Linked DNA regions of Homo sapiens: region 2 is linked to region 1. The links are contacts of gene promoters, found by promoter capture Hi-C in blood cells and fetal thymus (Javierre and others, 2016). All regions are on one chromosome and are shown on one strand. The core of a region is centred on a gene start or on the middle of the fragment in contact, and the rest is flanking DNA. Distances in the headings are between cores, read along the strand shown.

What was found. The method cuts DNA at HindIII sites, captures the fragments that hold promoters and counts their contacts. A CHiCAGO score of 5 or more calls a contact.
Region 2: the fragment with the promoter of EMC2 here is called in contact with the fragment with the promoter of ASPH in region 1 in 1 of 17 cell types (non-activated CD4 T cells); the score reaches 10.1 in non-activated CD4 T cells.

Annotation. Positions count from the first base shown.
Region 1 is chr8:61,712,986-61,716,791 of GRCh38, forward strand. ASPH (aspartate beta-hydroxylase) reads right to left here and starts at 1,607. Exons shown (of 25, transcript NM_004318.4): 1 at 1,284-1,607. The coding sequence starts at 1,386. It overlaps MIR4470 (microRNA 4470), which reads left to right and starts at 1,803; the gene lies at 1,803-1,874. RefSeq lists silencers at 977-1,406, 1,447-1,816. The HindIII fragment of the contact is 6,840 bases long and covers 1-3,806 here.
Region 2 is chr8:108,441,925-108,445,730 of GRCh38, forward strand. EMC2 (ER membrane protein complex subunit 2) reads left to right here and starts at 1,700. Exons shown (of 11, transcript NM_014673.5): 1 at 1,700-1,774. The coding sequence starts at 1,735. It overlaps LOC105375704 (a long non-coding RNA gene), which reads right to left and starts at 1,548. Exons shown (of 3, transcript XR_928530.4): 1 at 1,446-1,548. RefSeq lists a silencer at 1,534-1,653. The HindIII fragment of the contact is 5,303 bases long and covers 1-2,127 here.

The sequences.
Region 1 (3,806 bases), core at 357-2,856:
CCTCAGTCGGCTGAGGCAATTAATCTATCCCTCTGCAGGTTTAAGTAAGTGACATTTAAGAACAAGTGAAAAAGGAACACAAACTTTCACTTATGTCAAAGGTGAATTAATATGCTTGCATTGAACTTCAAACTGTGTCTACATCTTTACTTTTAGAATACAAATATTAGTCCTTAGAATGTAAATTTGTGCAATGGATTTAATGCACTACTTTCCCCATTTAAATCCATTCATTCATTCACTACTCAAATATTTATTGAGCACCTATTATGGGAAAGGAACATTCTAGGAGCTGGGGATACAGAGAGAATGAGCCAAAGACAACACACATGAAAGTAATAAGACAAGTTCAGATAGTGACAAGTGCTATAAAGAAAATACTTCTTTGACTATAGCTGATTCATTTTCTTGGTATATTATGAATGCATGATCTGAAGATCTCAGAAAACAAAGAGTCTAAATCACTTCAAGTGAAGTTTACAGCTCACATTCCATACACATGTGTATTGCAGTTTCAATATCCCAAATATGAGTCAAAGGAAGTATAAAAGAAACCAAGAATCACTGAAATATGAGACGAAACAGATTTAAAAATCTGTTCTCTCTGCTGGATATGCACACGGACGAGGAGAAAGGTGAATATCCAATCGATTTTTATTTTAAGTAAAAGTGGTAAAAATACAGACGCTCGTTCAGTATTTCATGACATTCTATTTTAAAGGCAACTGCAACGCATATTAAGAAAGCTACATACAAGCAAAAATATTTAAAATAATTTCTGAGAGCATTCAAATCACTCCCAACTTCTTCCCTCCCCCTGCCCCCCGGCGCCCCCATTTTCACCTCCTTTGAGTTGCTCTGAAACGCTGCTGGTTAGGCAGGAACTCACTTTCCCTGACTTTGGCTCATTTTCAACTCCCCAAAACACGCAAGGCAAACGATAAATTGTTCTCTTACTCCCATGTTCAATTCCACGGAAAGCCAAGAAACAGTCGTTCAGCAACCTCTGTCTCGGCTGCGCCCTGCAGGTGAAGGAACCGCTGGGAAGGGGCTCCCCGAGACTAGCATCCCGAGGGCTCGGACCCCGGTCCGCCTGGCCCCTCGCCCGCCCGCCAGGCCCGCCGAATGCGGCCTCCGCCCCGCGCGCCTAAAGGAGGAGCGTCGCGGGGGATGGAGGCGGCGCGCGGTGGGACCTGGGGAGATGCACCCGCAGCGTCCGCCGCGCCAGCCGGCTCCCTACCCCGAGGCGAGGCCCCAGATCCCCGCCCCGCAGGGCCTCTGACCTCTCCGGGCCCCGGGGCTGCTGCTGCCCGCACTCGTGCTACCGCTGCCGGAGCCGCTGCTGCTGCTGTTGCCGCTGCTCTTGGCATTCTTACGCTGGGCCATTGCACGGTCCGCGGGGGCTGGTGAGGGCTGGCGGACCTCCTTCAGTGCGCGGGGGTACACACGCGACGCGGGAACCGCTGGCGGCGGCGGGCCGCTGGAGCGGGTTCGGGCCGCTGCTCCTGCAGCAGACCCTGTGCCTCAGCACCGCCTGCAGCACCTGGGAAGACTTCACCCGCCTGCCGGCTGCGCGCGCCCGGCCTCGCGTGTACGAACCTGTGACTCCCTCCCGGGGCGAGAGCGCGCGGCTCGCCGCCCGACGGCCACGCCCCTTCCCGGCCTCGCCCCGCCCCCGGAAGGCTGAGTGACGGCGCCTGGGACCCAATCGCAAGGGCCCTTACGAGGCGGCGGTACCCTGCCGCGCTCCCCGCCCCTGCTCACTTAGGGCTGTTCGGGCGCTACGCAGCTGCCTGTGAGCGCGAGCCTCTTTCGGCTTTCCAGTTTGTCTCGGTCCTTTGGAACGTGGCAAACGTGGAAGCCGAGAGGGCTCTCGCGAGCGTTGGCAGACCCCGCTCCATAGGGATGGGACAGGGCGCGGTGCGGAATAGGTGGACACGTGGGCCGCCCGTGGGCGGAGTGCGCCGCTTCTAGGCCTTTCACTGTGGATTTTGTCCCCTTTCCGTATACAAGGAAAGGAAGGAGTGCAGTCTCGCTTCTTGCGAAAGAGATCCCTATTTCTTGTCCTGATTAATACTAAGACATTTCTGGAATGGTGATATTAGGACTAGTTCAATGCTTAAACCGTAGTAGTTCATCCATTTGGTGCTGAAGCAGGAATTTAGTTCGTTTGTGCCATCAGTATTTTCAGATACTCTTAGTTAAGGAATGAAAATGCAAATGTGACACAAAAAGTTCATTTTCTTACCCTGGATGGCACCCTCTGTCTGAAATCCCTGGCTGCTTTGCTAACGCCTGGGCCTGTGCTGCCTGAGAATTCCCAACAGAGTATTAAAATGTCTTGGCACGTGGTTGAACCAGACAAGGACTTGAGATCAGCGACGTCTTTATCATCTTTGTGTCACCATTGCTAACACCATGCCCAATGTGTAACAGGCAAGCAAGAAATGCTTAGTGATTTGATACATTTCTGTCAATTGCTGAACCCACAGCTCTTGATCATGTTTCGTAGCAACCCCTGGGAGTGTCTCAGGAGGGCTCAGGGACCAGAGAGAGCAGTTGCATTGTGGCATCTGGTTTCATTCCTCTTTTCCAGCCCCACAAACCCACCCACCCGCGCCTTCAGAAGCACTCCCGCCTCCCCCCGGCCCCATGCCTTTTCACCTGTGGATGGTTGGATGCTGCTTGACCCTGCCCTGATGATGCACAGAAACCCCCCAAAGGTCATGTTGCAGAATAAAGAGAATGCCTTTCTTTACCTTTTGTCAAATAGTGTTAGGCTATTATCAAGAGACGGTGGGAGGGGAGAGTTCACAGAGTTTTTATTGAAGTAGCTCTCTCAGCTTTTATCTTGTGGCATCTCCTTCTGCATCCATATATCCTTTCTCCCATTCAGGGCCCCCTTACAACCCTCTATTATATTATCTCAATGAAGGAGGTGGAGAACTGGATTAAGAAATAAATCTGAGTGATGGTGCTTCATATAAAATAAAAATGAGAGCTAAATTTCAAAACACAATGCTCTAGCCACCCCCCACCCCCCACACCAAAGATATTTTTACCCTTAAATTCTCACAAAACCCTGTAGTCATATCAATTTTTTAAAGAAATTAGATACTGGAAGCTCAGAGAGATAAAACAAAGTAGGGTCACTGTATTAGTCCGTTTTCACACTGCAGATAAAGACATATCCCAGACTGGAAAGAAAAAGGGGTTTAATTGGAGTTACAGTTCCACATGGCTGGGGAGGCCTCAGAATCATGGCAGGAGGTGAAAGGCACTTCTTACATGGAGGTGGCAAGAGAAAATGAGGAAGAAGTAAAAGCAGAAACCCCCAATAAACCCATTAGGTTTCATGAGAATTAATTCACTATCACGAGAATAGCACAGGAAAGACCGGCCCCCATGATTCAATTACCTCCCTCTGGGTTCTTCCCAAAACACATGGGAATTCTGAGAGATACAATTTGATGTTGAGATTTGAATGGGATCACAGCCAAACTATATCATTCTGCCCCAGTCCCTCCAAATTTCATGCCCTCACATTTCAGAACCAATCATGTTTTCCCAACAGTCCCCCAAAGCCTTAACTCATTTCAGCATTAACCCAAAAGTCCACAGTCCAAAGTCTCATCTGAGACAAGGCAAGTCCCTTCTACCTAAGAGCCTGTAAAATCAAAAGTAAGCTAGTTACTTCTTAGATACAATGAGGGTACAGGTATTGGGTAAATACAGCCATTTCAAATGGGAGAAATTGGCCAAAACAGCGGGGTTACAGGGCCCATGCAAGTCTGAATTCGAGTGGG
Region 2 (3,806 bases), core at 450-2,949, about 47 Mb after region 1:
TATATGAGCCTTTTTGATGTTTAGAGAGAAATAAGCTGAAAGTCACCCAGCTACTGAAAGGTAGAGCCTGGATTCAGATCTGGGAGTTCTTGTTCTTCCTATTGCACCAGGTTGCTTTACTGGAGCATTAAAATATGTGAATTTCTGAGTATTTTTTAACTTTTTGAATGAAAGATTTTTAAAAAGTCTGTTTAGAAAGAATGCCAGCTCATTCAGAATTGAATCCAAGTATATACATTCACTAGTCTTCTCTGTTGTTAAGTGACTTCTCTGGGGTCTATGGTTTGATGGTTTTTTTCCTTTTTTTAAACAAACAAACAAAAAAACCTCTGCGGTTGACTGGAGCCGACAGGTGAGGAATGGAGAGATGTTGGTCAAATAGTACAAACTTTTGGTTGTAAGATGAATATGTTCTGGAGATCGAATGTACAGCATGGTGACTACAGTTATAATTCTGTATTGTATACTTTGAAGTTTGCTGAGAGATTTTTAAGTGTTCTCAACACACACACACACACACACACACAGGAAATATGTACGGTGATAGATGTGTTAATTAGCTTGCTTGTGGTAATCATTTCACAGTGTATATTTACATCTAATCATTACTTTGTATACCTTAAATATACACAATTTTTGTCCATTACACCTCAATAAAGCTGAGAAAAAAAACCCTCCACTCTTTTGACTTGTGGGATAGTATTATTTCTACTTCTCAAATCAACTGCCCCTTCTTTACTGACCAATAACTTTCGGCTGCATTGCAGTGATTTTTAGTTTTTTCTCAGCTTACATATTTCCTCTACAATCTCATGTCCCCATTGCTTCAAATACTAAATATACGCTTATCATCCTCAAATTTTTTACTTCCTGTCCAGACATTTCTCCTTAAGTCTAGGAGATGACGTCCAAAGTTTCCTAAAAGCAATTAGTCTGGTGGGAAAGGAGGCTCCCCCATCCACCCAGGAGTAATGAGGAGCGAAGTTCAGGAACTGTGAAGGTCTCATTCGTACATTCATTCCTTATAAGTACTTACATACTCGCGACAGTTTGAAACCTAGTGTGGCATGCAGACATGGATGAAGCAATGACAGGCACGACGAGCGTTAATGAAGGGTATAAGCTAGCGCGAGGGCATTCAAGGGAACTTCAGAGCGCAAAGGAAGAATCCCACTTAGTCTCTCAAAACTTTGGAGTTTATCCGTTTAGTCGATTAAAAAGTGAACGGAAAGCAAATCCCATTACGGAAGGAGGAAAGTTGGGGACAAATAAGGGATTCGTGCAGAAGGCTGCACTGCGGCCGGCCATGAAGAGAATAAGGGTACTTAAGGGAGTGTGAAGAGAATGAACAAGCCTAGGTAGAAAAAACTGAAAAGCCAGGATTGACGGACACTAAAAACCCAGCATTTGTTAAAAATCCACGTCAACACACACACACACCTCACCCCGAGCCAGCACCGTAGCCCCGCCAGCAGCCAGGGTATCCTGAGATTGCGGGAGCGCCACGCACCGCCCACCTAGCTCCGTCCACCGTCCAGCTCGCTCCGCCCAGCTCGCTCCGCCCCCTTCCCCGAAAGCCCCTCCGCAGAGCCGCGTGCACGTGCGTGGCGGATACCGCCCCCTCTGCTCTCTTGGCCAATGAGAAAAAGCTACGTAACTCTCCACCGCCCGGTGGCGGGTCACGTGACTGCGTCTCCCCGCCCTCTCACCCCGCTGCCTCTAGGTTCTGGGAAGATGGCGAAGGTCTCAGAGCTTTACGATGTCACTTGGGAAGGTAACTTCGGGTGGGGGCGGGTGCGGAAAGACTAAAAGCGCTGGGAAGCCGTTCGGGAGTACCCGCTGCTTTCGGGGAGCTGGGTTCTCTGGTGTCTTTTTGGTACCAGAGCCCTCACTGTACGGGCCAAGCTGAGGTGGAGGCTGAGGCTGACCCTTCCCTTGGCCCGGACGCGTACTCTGCAGCGTTTCCCACGGTGTCTGCTCCTCGGTTGACCTGCCCTCCTCCGCGCCAGTCCAGCGTCCCGGGGCCGCTTTTATTTATGAGGCGGGCGGGAGGGACTTGGGGCTGGGGTTGTCGCACGCTAACTGGTTGCTGGGCGGTGCGGAAGAGGCGGAATAGGTGGTTACTGAAGCTTCTTTGGAGCCAAGAAACACAGGGCCTGTAAGGCCCTTTACTAAGTGGTGTGTAAGGATTACAGCTCTGTGCAGAAAAGCTGTGTAAAAGATGCGTGAACAAATGTGATTCTCATATGCCACTCTACATTTAGTTTTCTTCTTAAACCCGGGTTTCCAGTTTCTTTTCCTTTTAGTCTAGTCTCTGTCCCACTCCTTCTCAAAACACATTTACACACACAACACAACTTCTTTCTTACTCCCTACTAGTAGTTTCTTTTCTGAAGGGAAAAATAACTAATTAACTCTGGGCTACGTAAGTGCTTACGTGTGATGGTCACTTTTCCCTATCCTTAGTTGATCTAGAGTGGGATATGTTCTTTAAATCTGGGAACAGCCAAACCTTGGATCAATTCTGTGTGCTTAAGAAACTTGAGTTTCATTAAGGCGTGGAATTTGTGTAATTGGAATTCATATTCCCAGCATTTAACATAATACAGGAGACTTCAGTAGCTAATTTGCTTAACGAATGCCTTCTTGGGATGTTTTAATAATGACCTGAAAACATGTGGACCGAAAGTTGTATTTTCTGTTTTATCGTGAATAAATATATCAGTTATTATAAAGTTGTAAATCCGTTACAAATAAAGCAAAATTTCTTTGTACTTGAACTGAATTAAATGATTTATTGACTTTATGGCCTCTAGCACGTTGTGAATCTCAGTATTTATACCTGAATTGAGGGATTCCATTATATTAAACAACAGTGTTGATTTCTTACTGCAAAATCTTGGCTCTGTCAACACACAGTCCCCACTTCCAAGGAAGTCACAATCTAATGGAGAAAACAAACCTGTAAACACACAGTTTTAAAAGGCTTGTGTCAGGGTATCTTCCGTAAGCTGAGTCGTAGATAAATGGATGTTATTTTTAATGCTTTTTAAAAAATGTTTTAAATATTACATAATTTTTAGAAAATGCTATTATGAAGGTATGTTCATTATAGGTTTCCTAGATGATAGTAGCATATATAAAATCCTGAGGGACGAGTAGCTGTATACTACCAACAGACAAGGTGATTTAACTGAGTAATTGGACCTTACCCTGTGGTCATTCTAAAGAGGATTGATGTAATTAATTTGGAATAATAAATAATAACTACTACACAAATTTGTAGGAACAAAGAAAACATTTTAAAGTGCTTTGTAAACTGTTAAGTACTATATAAAAGGATGTGTTACTATTAGCTAGTGCTAATATGATTATGTCCTTCCTCTGTATGATCTGGCGGTTGCCCATGTCTCCAGCTTTATCTTGAGCCCTTCTCCCTCTCACTTTGTGAGCTGCCTATGCTGGCCTTTGTTGAATACCCTAAATTGCCATGCTGCTTCTTAAAGCTGGCACATGCTAGTCCTTCCACTGGGAGTGTTCTTCCCTCCTTGCCTCACTCTTGCCCCCATTAAACTTTATCATTTATCAATTCCCCACAAAGCTCACCTACTACAAAAAAGCCTTACTTGACCACTCTACTACCCCCTTCCCTTTCCTCATCCCCCACCAAAATTGAAAAAAAAAACCCAAACAATAAAATGAAGCAACAAAACACACCTGCAATCCTTCGATTATGTATTCTATTCTAATACTATTGAAGCACTTACCCAATTGTGTTTTGTTTTAAAATTTTGTCTCTCCTAAGA